Linked DNA regions of Homo sapiens: regions 2 and 3 are each linked to region 1. Evidence: promoter capture Hi-C in human tissues and cell types (Jung and others, 2019). All regions are on one chromosome and are shown on one strand. The core of a region is centred on a gene start or on the middle of the fragment in contact, and the rest is flanking DNA. Distances in the headings are between cores, read along the strand shown. Region 1 holds the start of MAFK (MAF bZIP transcription factor K). Region 2 holds the start of LFNG (LFNG O-fucosylpeptide 3-beta-N-acetylglucosaminyltransferase). Region 3 overlaps SNX8 (sorting nexin 8).

Evidence for each region. Contacts are between HindIII fragments. The study calls those that stand out against the background at their distance.
Region 2: a contact is called between the fragment with the promoter of LFNG here and the fragment with the promoter of MAFK in region 1, in 1 of the 25 tissues and cell types used here (lymphoblastoid cells).
Region 3: a fragment that was not itself captured here is called in contact with the fragment with the promoter of MAFK in region 1 in 2 of the 25 tissues and cell types used here (dorsolateral prefrontal cortex and lymphoblastoid cells).

What each region holds. Positions count from the first base shown.
Region 1 is chr7:1,528,926-1,532,359 of GRCh38, reverse strand. It overlaps MAFK (MAF bZIP transcription factor K), which reads right to left and starts at 1,658. Exons shown (of 3, transcript NM_002360.4): 1 at 1,462-1,658. RefSeq lists silencers at 939-1,068, 1,559-1,828. The HindIII fragment of the contact is 23,868 bases long and covers 1-3,434 here.
Region 2 is chr7:2,518,524-2,521,957 of GRCh38, reverse strand. It overlaps LFNG (LFNG O-fucosylpeptide 3-beta-N-acetylglucosaminyltransferase), which reads right to left and starts at 2,184. Exons shown (of 8, transcript NM_001040167.2): 1 at 1,665-2,184. The coding sequence starts at 2,096. RefSeq lists an enhancer at 1-77 and silencers at 2,009-2,118, 2,129-2,658. The HindIII fragment of the contact is 23,923 bases long and covers 1-3,434 here.
Region 3 is chr7:2,295,643-2,299,076 of GRCh38, reverse strand. The region is part of intron 1 of SNX8 (sorting nexin 8); the gene reads left to right. Among named protein-coding and RNA genes, the nearest start is that of SNX8, 17 kb to the left of the region's middle. The HindIII fragment of the contact is 3,599 bases long and covers 1-3,418 here.

The DNA of each region.
Region 1 (3,434 bases), core at 409-2,908:
AAATGGCACTGGACGCCCAAATAGGGTGTAGGTGTGTCCCAGACACCTGCACAGCCCACCTATGTTCTCCAGACCCCGCCCACGGCTCTTTTAATGCTCCATGTCCCTGAAGACATTGGGTTTGGAGAAGCTGCATAGGGCACCCCACTCTGTGTTGGAGAACCCCTTACAACAACACACCGTGACGGTGAAACCTCAGTGCCAGTAAAGAGACCTGGCAGCCCACCCTGGAGAATCAGAGGGGTGGGAAGGGCGCTGCCAGAGCCGAACCACACAGATATCCCCTAGACCACGATGGGGGGCGGTGGGGGGCGTTTTGAGTCTCAGGATCTTCCCAAGGCCAGGCACCTGGCCAGAGATTGGCTGGCTGCCTGTGGGTCACCTGGTGAATGAATGGTGAGTGGATCTAATTTCTGCCTCAGCTACAAGAGCTACTTAAGAAGCAAGAAAACAGCATGCTCAGGGACGCAGGACACCAGGAGAGGGACACGGGAGGCCCCGCGAACACGGACACACACGGTGTGAGCGCGAGAATGCAGTGCAGGGCCACTGCTGTGTCCCAGGCGGACCCAGGTCAAGGGCCAAGGCCAGGCGGGGTCCTGGCTTTCTGGGTTTCTCGGTGGCGCCTGGTCCCACCCCCCAGGATCTAGAGGCTGTGCAGACGCAGACACACACAGTCACGGGCACATACACAGTTTCCTGAACTTGACAGAGGCACAGAAGAACTCACGCAGTGGGAGCGGGAAGAGGCCGGAGCCCCTGCCCCACACGTGAGCAAAGGGACGAGCCTTGGGGCCACTGTCACCTGCCCCCCTCCCGCCTCCCCACGGCCTTCCTTCCAGCAACCCTGGCAGGTGGGCGGCTGAGAGCGACACCAGTCCCAGGATCCCGCCTGTGGGGAGACCCGGTTACCCCCACCCCGTTCCCGGGCACGCGTGACCCCAGCCACTGGGCCAGAGCGCCGCCCGTCACCGGGAGGAAGCGCGGGGGGCAGTCCGGGGCCGCACGCGGAAGCCACGCTGGGGCGGAAGCCGCGGAGAATCCACGCGCCCGCGCCCTCCCCGCACCGCCCGCACGTGGCGCCCGCCCCGCCCCGCCCCCCGCAGGTGTGAAGGCGCGGGCCCGATGCGCGCCGCCGACCCGCGTGGATCCTCGTCCTCCCAGGTCTGGGGTCCGCGCCCTGGGGCCCCCGGCGCGGCAAGCATGGCCCGGGCGGCACGTGCAGGGGAGAGAGCCTCGCGTCCCGGGGAAGCCCCCGGGCCTGCGGGGCGGGGCCCACCTGGGCAGGTGCCCGGGCCGCGCCGCGGGCCGCATGAGGGTCTCGGGCCCCGCGCACCCAACCCCGCCACCCTCGGCCCGCGCCCCCAGGCGGCCGTGACTCAGCGGCCAGGTAGCCCCGGCCCCGCGCCCCGGTCCCCGTCCCCGCCGCGGCCCGGGCCCCGCTGCCCCACCGCCCCTCACCTGGCGTCGCGCGGAGGGCGCGGGCGCGCGGCGGCTCCTCGCGGGCACGCGCTGTCCTCGCGCCGGCGCTCACTGTCGCGCTCCCCTCGGCCGCCGCCGCCGCCTGGCGCTCGGGCTCCGACTTCGCGAAGAACAACAAGTGCCCCCGCGCCGCCCGCCGCCACCGCACCCGCCCGCCCGGCTCCCCAGCATCTGACACCGCTTCCGGGATCCGCGGCGCGCGCGTCACACCGCCCTGCCCCCCGGGCCACGCCCCCTCCCCGCCCCGCGGCCACGCCCCCCGGCCACGCCCTCCTCTCCCGCCCGGGGGGCCGCTGGCCCCGCGCGCACCTGCAATCCCCGCGCTTTGGGAGGCCCTGCGGGAAGATCTCTGGAGGCCGGGAGTTCAAGACCAGCCTGGGCAACATAGCGAAACCTCCCTTCCCCCATTCTCTGTCTCTATAAACATAAAAAACATTAAGGCCAGCTGGGAACGGTGGCTCATGCCTGTAATCCCAGCACTTTGGGAGGCCAAAGCAGGAGGATCGCTTGAGCCCAGGAGTTCCAGACCAGCCTGGACAACACAGTGAGACCCCCATCTCTACAAAAAAATTACAAAAATTAGTCGGGCGTGGTGGTATGTGCCTGCGGCCCCAGATATTCAGGAGGCTGAGGCAGGAGGATGGCTTGAACCTGGAAGGTGGAGGCTGCCATGATTTCATCACTGCACTCTAGCCTGGGTGACAAGGTGAGACCCTGTCTCAAAAAAACAAAACAAGCAAACCAGCAATGTAAAAATGGGGATAAGCGGCTAGTGATCACAGCCTCTGTGGGTGGGGCCAGCCCCCTTCTAAAGCCCCAGCTGGTGGTTGCCAGGGGACACAGCAGGCCCAGGATGGGGTTAGGGCACCACTGGCCCAAGGAGTCCTGTGAGGGATCCTCAGGTGGGGGCGGGCCCCTGAGGGAGCTGCCTCTGCTTCCTGTCACAGGTGGAGGACAGGCTGGAGAGGGGATCCGTCTGGAGCCCCTTGCCACGCTTCTGGGTCCCCAAGTCCCGCCCCCCTCTGAGCGCTGCAGGAAGAGGAGTTTCAGGCCTGGGCAACCGAGGGCCCCCCAGGACACCCATGGCATCTGCCCGGGGTTCTGGGAAGCCTGTTTTCTCAGCTCAGGTGGGACCCGGGAGCCTGTTTTCTCGGCTCAGGTGGGACTCAGGAGCCAGTGCAGGGAGGTCTGTGCATCTTCTGGGTGTCGTCCTTACCACCATGTGGCTGGGGATTTAGGCAGCAGCCCAGTGGCCTCTTGCTGTGGAGCGCGGGGGCAGCCTCCCGGGCCATCTCTCCCCCCCACTTGCGGGTTCTGCACTGGCCACCTGGGAGGCCCCTCCTTGCTAAGGCCCACACGGCCGTCTGGGGCAGCTAGCCACAGTGATGCCTGCAACCTGGCCGCAGAAACAGGTGCCAAGAAATAACTCAACAGCAGCAGTAGCGACAATGTCCCACGTCCCCAGGATGTTTGCAGAAAGACATCCCCCGGGGATGGGAAAGGTGCTTCCCTTGTCCTGGCCCACACTCTGCACTCGGGGTCCTGGGATGCGCTGGGAGCCTCCAGAGAAGCTGTGGCCATCTCCGCGGGACTCTTTACGTTACTCATGGTGTCGCTCCTCTAACCCAAATGCATTCTTTCCATAGCAGGCTTTTGTTACTAATCACACACTTTTATTATCTCTTTAATTTTTTAATTTGTATTTATTTATTTCTGAGATGGAGTCTCACTCTGTCGTCCAGGCTGGAGTGCAGTGGCACCATCTCGGCTCACTGCAGCCTCCGCCTCCCAGGTTCAAGTGATTCTCCTGCCTCAGCCCCCTCGAGTAGCTGGGATCACAGGTGCCCACCACCACGTCTGGTTAAATTTTGTTTTTGTTCTTGTTGCTGTTTTGAGATGGAGTCTCACTCTGTTGCCAGGCTGGAGTGCAGTAGCACGATCTCGGATCACTG
Region 2 (3,434 bases), core at 935-3,434, 990 kb before region 1:
CCCTGGTGGGGTGACCCTCCAGTAGGGACCTCAGGGCTCAAGGGAGTGATGGCCCCCACCTCGACCCTGAGTGCCCGCCGGGTTCACCCCATGCCTGCAGGCTTTGCCAGTCTCTTACAACGTGCTCCTGGAAGGACCATGTTCCCCCATTTCAGAGATCAGAGTGAGGGTCTGAGAGGCCCCAGGTCTTGCTCAGGATCACACAGCCCAGCCCTCTGACCACATCCCCTCTGTTGGAGAAAGGCCCCAAATTCCAAGATGAGAGGTGCTCAGAGCTGGTGGTAGCCCAGAGTGGGGCTGAAGGATGCCCAAGATCACATAGCAGTAAGGCTTGAGTGCTGGGGGTGGGGGGGCCAGGCTCAGGGATGGTGCCCCAAAAGGACTGTCAGTAAGAGATGCTGGGGGGGCCCGCTGGTCCCCTCATCGCCAGGCAACCTGAGTGGCCAGCACGCCAGCAGCGGTTCCCACGGAGCGCGTAGCTGCACACAAGGGGCCCGACGCCTTTCTCGCTGGAGAAAGGGGCTTTGTTACCTTGCCCAAGGGGCCGGCGTGAGAGCCGCCCGGCGCTGGGAATCCTAACGGCCCGGCCGCCAAACAAAACCCACGGCCCCCGCCGCCCCCTCCCGCCAGCCCGCTGAGCCCCTGGGAATGGGACGCTGTGTTCCCAGGAGGCTGCCATGGGGTTCCCAGGGCCCCTTCCCCACGCCAGGACCAGGGAGGACCCTGCCCCTCCCCGTCGCCCTCATGACCTCACCAAGCCCTGCTCCCACCCACCCACAGTGCCCCAAAACAGGACAGCGCCAGGTCAGAAGGCCCTGGGTCTCCGGGGTTTGAGCAGGGAGGAAGGCGTGCAGGGTCTTCCCTGAGCCCCCACCCTCACAGCAAATGCCTCTGCATCTCCCAGCCCAGAGACACCCCCCCAGTCCCCGACTGCAAGCCCCACACACTGTCCCCATCCCGCCCCAGCCCAACCGTCCTGCTGTGGCCTCGAGGGAAATGTTCAAAGTGGGGTGTGTCTTAATTATGTGTGTGTAAGAAGCTGATGCCCAACTGAAGTGGGCTGTGCCCAAGGTTGCAGGCCTCAGAGACTACTGCACTGTGCGGGGAGGGTCCCCACACAGACCCCAAAACCTGGAGTTCTTTGAGATGTACTCCCCAGGACCCACCAACCAGCAATGACTTCCCTCCCTCCCCGTACCTTAACACTGTGATGAGGAAAGGGCCCAGAGGTCAGAACCCCTCACTTCTCTAAAGGAAGAGCCTTTCTCCCCAGGAAGGGGTCTGAGCTGAGGGTGGGTCCGAACAGAATTTGCTTGTGGAAGTTTGAGGACATAATGCCCTATGAATGCGCTCCAATGTTTACGGGGTGAGAAGTATCACAGGGCACCAACCCCAAGCACTGGAGACTGGTGTAGGGTCCTGCAGCCATCCAGGACTCTGGAGCTGGACAGGAGGCGGGGCCCCGGGGACAGTAACACAACTGTAACGGGAGAGTGGCCCCAGCAGGCAAACTGGGTGCACCGGGGTGCACTGGCGTCGCCCACAGATGGCCCTAGTGGCTGGATGGGGATGCAGCCTGACTCCCATGGGACACTGCCACCAGCTGGACCAGATGGTGGGTCCCCGCCCCGCTCGCCCGCCAGTCCAGGCCGCGGGGGGCTCACCATCTCCTTGTGGCGCGAGATCCAGGTCTCCAGCAGCAGGTCGAGGCGCGCGCGGTGGAACTTTTTGGTGGTCTTGACAGCGATGAAGACGTCTCGGGGCGCGAGCGGCTCGGCCAGGGGGCGCGGGTGGCCGTCGGCGGGGCGGGGGGCAGCCCCGGGCGGCGGGCCCGCATCTCTGCGCGCGCGGGTGAGCAGGCTGAAGTACTCGGACAGACTGTGCACGTCGCGGACCAGCGCCCCGGGCGCCGCCGCCGCCGCCCCCAGCCCGGGCGCCGGGGCAGCCCCCGCGGGGCCCGCCAGGCTGCGCAGCGCGCGCCGGCCGCGCTCGGCGGGCAGTGGAGGCGGCGGCGGGTCGGCGGTGAGCACCAGCAGGCAGGCGAGCAGCGCGCCCGCCAGCGCCAGCAGCAGGCGCCGGCCGCAGCGCTTGAGCATGGTGGGGTGGCGGCCGCGCGGCGCGCCCTTCCCCGTGCGCCTGCCTTGCACCGACCCGAAGCCCGTCGCTCCGGCGGCGCAGTCCAGCAGCGCAGCACCAGTGTCCCGCGCTCTTAAACCTCCCCGCCCCGGTCCCGCCCCCGTGCGCTCATTGGCTCCCGGGCTCGGGGGCGGGGCCTCGCGCCGGTCGCCGCTCCACGCCCGCAGACCCACGTGGGGCCGCGGCTGGGGGCTGGGAACTGCCCAGAGGGCGCAGCGGCCCCGCCCCCGGCGCGCACGTGCACGCCCCGCACCCCCCCCGCCCCGGGTAGCCCCTGCGGGCCGCCGAGGGGCTTGGGGACGGGCCCGGCCCGCGCCGGTGTCCCTGAAGAGGAAACCCAGCCTGGCCAGCGCCGTCCGGGGATGCACCGGGCGTCCCGGCACGGGAGGGGCGCGCCCTCGGCGCAGCGGGCAGGGTGCTGAGACCCGGGCTCTGGGCTCCGACGCACCGCGGGGGACATCCTACTTCCTCGCTGTGCGCTTCCCCTCCTGAGCACGGCTTCCTCCCCTTGGGACGCGGCAGGCCTTGCAAACTGGGGTGGCGCCTGGGTCTTCCCGAGCGCTCGGTTCAGGGGAGCCGTTATTTGTACAGAGCAAGAGCTTGGCCACCTGTGCCGCAGGTGGGGACACGAGGTTCTAACGAGAAAGCACCAGAACCAAATTCCACTCCTTCCTCCCTGGCTGATTTCCTCGATCCTGGCCCTCCGTCGGGAGGGTTGGCTCCCCGAAATCCTCAGGCGCCCCATGGCGAGGAGAAACGAAGGCCGCCACTTCCCTCGCCGGATGAAAGGCCGCCTTCTGTCCCATTTGGTCTCCTTGCGCTCGGGCCAGATGCGGCCCAGCTGTGCGCCCTCCCCACCCCGCCTCCCCGGCACACGGCCCCCATCCCCGGCCCTTCCCACGGGCCCGGGCCCGCCCCTCGCACGAGCGGGGGCGGCAGGAATGCGCGCCGGCAGCCGAGGGTGAGGGGCGAGGGGCCCGGAAGTGGCCAAGGGTCGCCTGAGCAGGGTGTGAGCCCCCTGCCCGCCACGTCCTCCGGAAGCGTGGACGGAGGCGGCTCTGCCCGTGGCTGCGCTGTCTTCCCGTGCCCTCCTAAGCAGGGTCTCTGCGACCACCACGACCACCACCGCCACCACCGTGGCTAAACTGCCCCCCTCGGAGTTATGTTCACGCCTGAGATGGCATTTTAAATTCTTTAAGTGCCCTTGGAGCCCCTCTCCTTACCTCTACCTGAATGTCAGCCGCAAGACAGCAGCGACCTGGTGTCATTCAGACCTGGAACAGGTTTTGGGACATAGT
Region 3 (3,434 bases), core at 370-2,869, 770 kb before region 1:
CCCTGGTCAGCAGCTTGCTCTGTCTGTGGTTTGATCTGGGAATTTGGTATCAGGAGTATAGGCCCATTAAAAAAGAAAAGCTCAGACCAGGCATGGTGGGTCACGCATGTAATCCCAGCACTTTAGGAGGCCGAGGTGGGAGGATCACTTGAGGTCAGGAGTTCGAGACCAGCCTGGCCATCATGGCGAAACCCTGTCTCTACCAAAAATCCAAAAAATTAGCTAGGCGTGGTAGCATGTGCCTGTAATCCCAGCTGCTCGGGAGGCTGAGGTATGAGAATCTCTTGAACCTGGGAGGTGGAGGTTGCAGTGAGCTGAGATCGTGCCACTGCACTCCAGGCTGGGGGACAGAGCAAGACTCCATCTCAAAAACAAAAAACAAAAAACAAAAACAAAACCAAAACCCAGGTTGGGTGTGGTGGCTCATGCCTGTAATCCCAGCACTTTGGGAGGCTGAGGCGGGTGGATCACCTGAGGTTAGGAGTTCGAGACCAGCCTGGCCAACATGGTGAAACCCCGTCTCTACTAAAAATACAAAAATTACCTGGGCGTGCTGGTGCATGCCTGTAATCCCAGCTACCCGGGAGGCTGAGGCAGGAGAATTGCTGGAACCTGGGAGGCTGCGGTTGCAGAGAGCCGAGATTGCACCACTGCACTCCAGCCTGGGGGACAGAATGAGACTCCGTCTCAAAAAACAAAACAAAACAACCCAAACCAAAAATAAAACGAAAAAGAAAAGTTCAGAGCCTGGGCACCATAGTGAGACTTTGCCTCTACAAAAAAAATAAAAAGTTAGCTGCACATGATGGGGCAGGCCTGTAGCCCCGGCTACTCGGGAGTCTGAGGCAGGAAGATCACTAGAGCCTGGGAGTTCGAGGTGATCTCGCACTGTGCGAGCTGTGATCGCACTACTGTACTCCAGCCTGCACGACAGAGCGAGATCCTCTCTAAAAATAAGAATAAAGAAAAGCTTGGGCCCTGGGCACCATGCTAGGTGCTTTAACATTTTTTGTGTTTTTTTAGTGTTTCTTTTAAAAAAATATTTTTATTTCAATAGTTTTAGGGCTGGTTTTTGGTTATGTAGATGAATTGTTCGTTGGTCGAGGCTGGGTTTTTATTGTACTTGTCACCAAAATAATGTCCATGGTACACAGTAGGTAATTTTTCATCCTTCACCCCCTCCCGCCCTCTGAGGGTCCAGTGTCTGTTATCCCACTTTTGCCTGCTTTTGTGTCCCCGTAGTTCAGCTCTCACTTATAAGTGAGAACATGTGGTATTTGGGTTTCTGATCCTGAGTTACTTCACTTAGGATAATGGCCTCCAGTCTCATCCAAGTTGCTGCAAAAGACATGATTTCATTCTTTTCTATGACTGAGTAGAATTCCATGATGTATATGAACCACATTTTCTGCATCTACTCATCGGTTGACGGGCACTTAGGTTGATTCCATATCTTTGCAACTGTGAATTGTGCTGCGATAAATGGGCATGTGCAGGTATTTTTTTTTTTTTTTTTTTTTTTTTTTGCGGCGGGGTTTTGCTCCTGTTGCCCAGGCTGCAGTGCAGTGGCACAATCTCGGCTCACTGCAACCTGTCCCTCTTGGGTTCAAGCGATTCTCCTGCCTCAGCCTCCCAAATAGCTGGGATTATAGGCATGTGCCACCGTGCCTGGCTAATTTTGTATTTTTAGTAGAGATGGGGTTTCACCATGTTGGCCAGGCTGGTCTCGAACTCCTGACCTCAAGTGATCTGCCCGCCTCGGCCTCCCAAAGTGCTGGGATTACAGGTGTGAGCCACCATGCCCGTCCCCTTTTTGATGTAATTATTTCTTTTCTTTTGGGTGATTACCCAGTAGTGGGACTACTGGATTGAATGGTAGATGTGCCTTTAGTTTTCTGAGAAATCTCCATACTGTTTTCCGCAAAGGCTGTACTAATTTCATTCCCATCGGTAGCGTGTAAGCATTCCCTCTGTACCACATCTACGCCAACATCTGTTGTTCTTTGACTTTTTAATAATAGCCATTCTGGCTGGGGTAAGATACTATCTCATTGTGGTTTTAATTTGCATGTCCCTGTGATGGATTAGTGATTTTGAGCATTTTGCATATATTTTTTGGCCATTTGTATATATTTTTTTCTTTTTTGAGACAGAGTCTCACTCTTGTTGCCCAGGCTGGAGTGCAATGGCGTGATCTCAGCTCACTGCAACCTCTGCCTCCCAGGTTCAAGCGATTCTCATGCCTCAGCCTCCTGAGTAGCTGGGATTACAGGTGTCCGCCACCATGCCTGGCTAATTTTTGTATTTTTGTAGAGATGGGGTTTAACCATGTTGGCTAGGCTGGTCTCGAACTCCTGACCTCAGGTGATCCACCCGCCTCGGCCTCCCAAAGTGCTGGGATTACAGGTGTGAGCCACCACACCCGGCTGTTTCAAAATATCTTAATGTTACATCACATTAAATAAGGTATTAAATAGCCCCATTTATATAGCAATCAGGCAAGAGAAATAAAGTGCATCTGGATTGGAAGAGAGGAAGTCAAACTATCTCTGTTTGCTGATGATATGATATTATACCTAGAACACCCTCAAGACTCCTCTAGAAGACTCCTAGATTTGAGAAAAGAATTCAGTGAAGTTTCAGGTTACAAAATCAGTATACACAAATCAGTAGCATGCTATCTGCCAGCAGCGACCAAGCTGAGAATCAAATCAAGAACTCATTCCCATTTACAATAGCTACAATAACAACAACCAAACACCCTAGGAATATAGTTACCCAAGGATGTGAAAGATCTCTACAAGGAGAACAATAAAACACTGATGAAATAAATCATAGATGACACAAACAAATGGAAAAACATCCCGTGCTCAGGGATTGGGAGAATCAATATTGTGAAAATGACCACACTGCCAAAAGCAATCTACAGAGTCAGTGTGATTCCTACCAAGATACCAACGTCATTTTTCACAGAATTAGAAAAAGATCCAAAAATTCACATGGAAACAATGAGCCCGAAAAGGCAAAGCAATCCTAAGCAAAAGGAATGAATTTGGAGGGATCGCATTACCTGATTCAAGTTAATCTCTAAGGCTGTAGTAACCAAAATAGCATGATCCTGGTATAAACGTGCACACAGACCCATGGAACAGAATAGGAACCCAGAAATAAAGCTACATTTTTACAAGCAGCTGATCTTTGACAAAACATACAAAAACATATCACTGGGGAAAGGACGCCCTGGTTAATAAGTGGCGCTAGGAAAATTGGATAGCCACATGCAAAAGAATGAAACTGGGTCGCTCGCTCTCACCATATGCAAAAATCAACTCAAGACTTAAATCTAAGACCTGAAACTATAACAACTCTAGAAGATAACATTGGGAGAACTCTTCCGGACATAGGCCAAGGCAAAGAATTTATGCCCAAGGCCC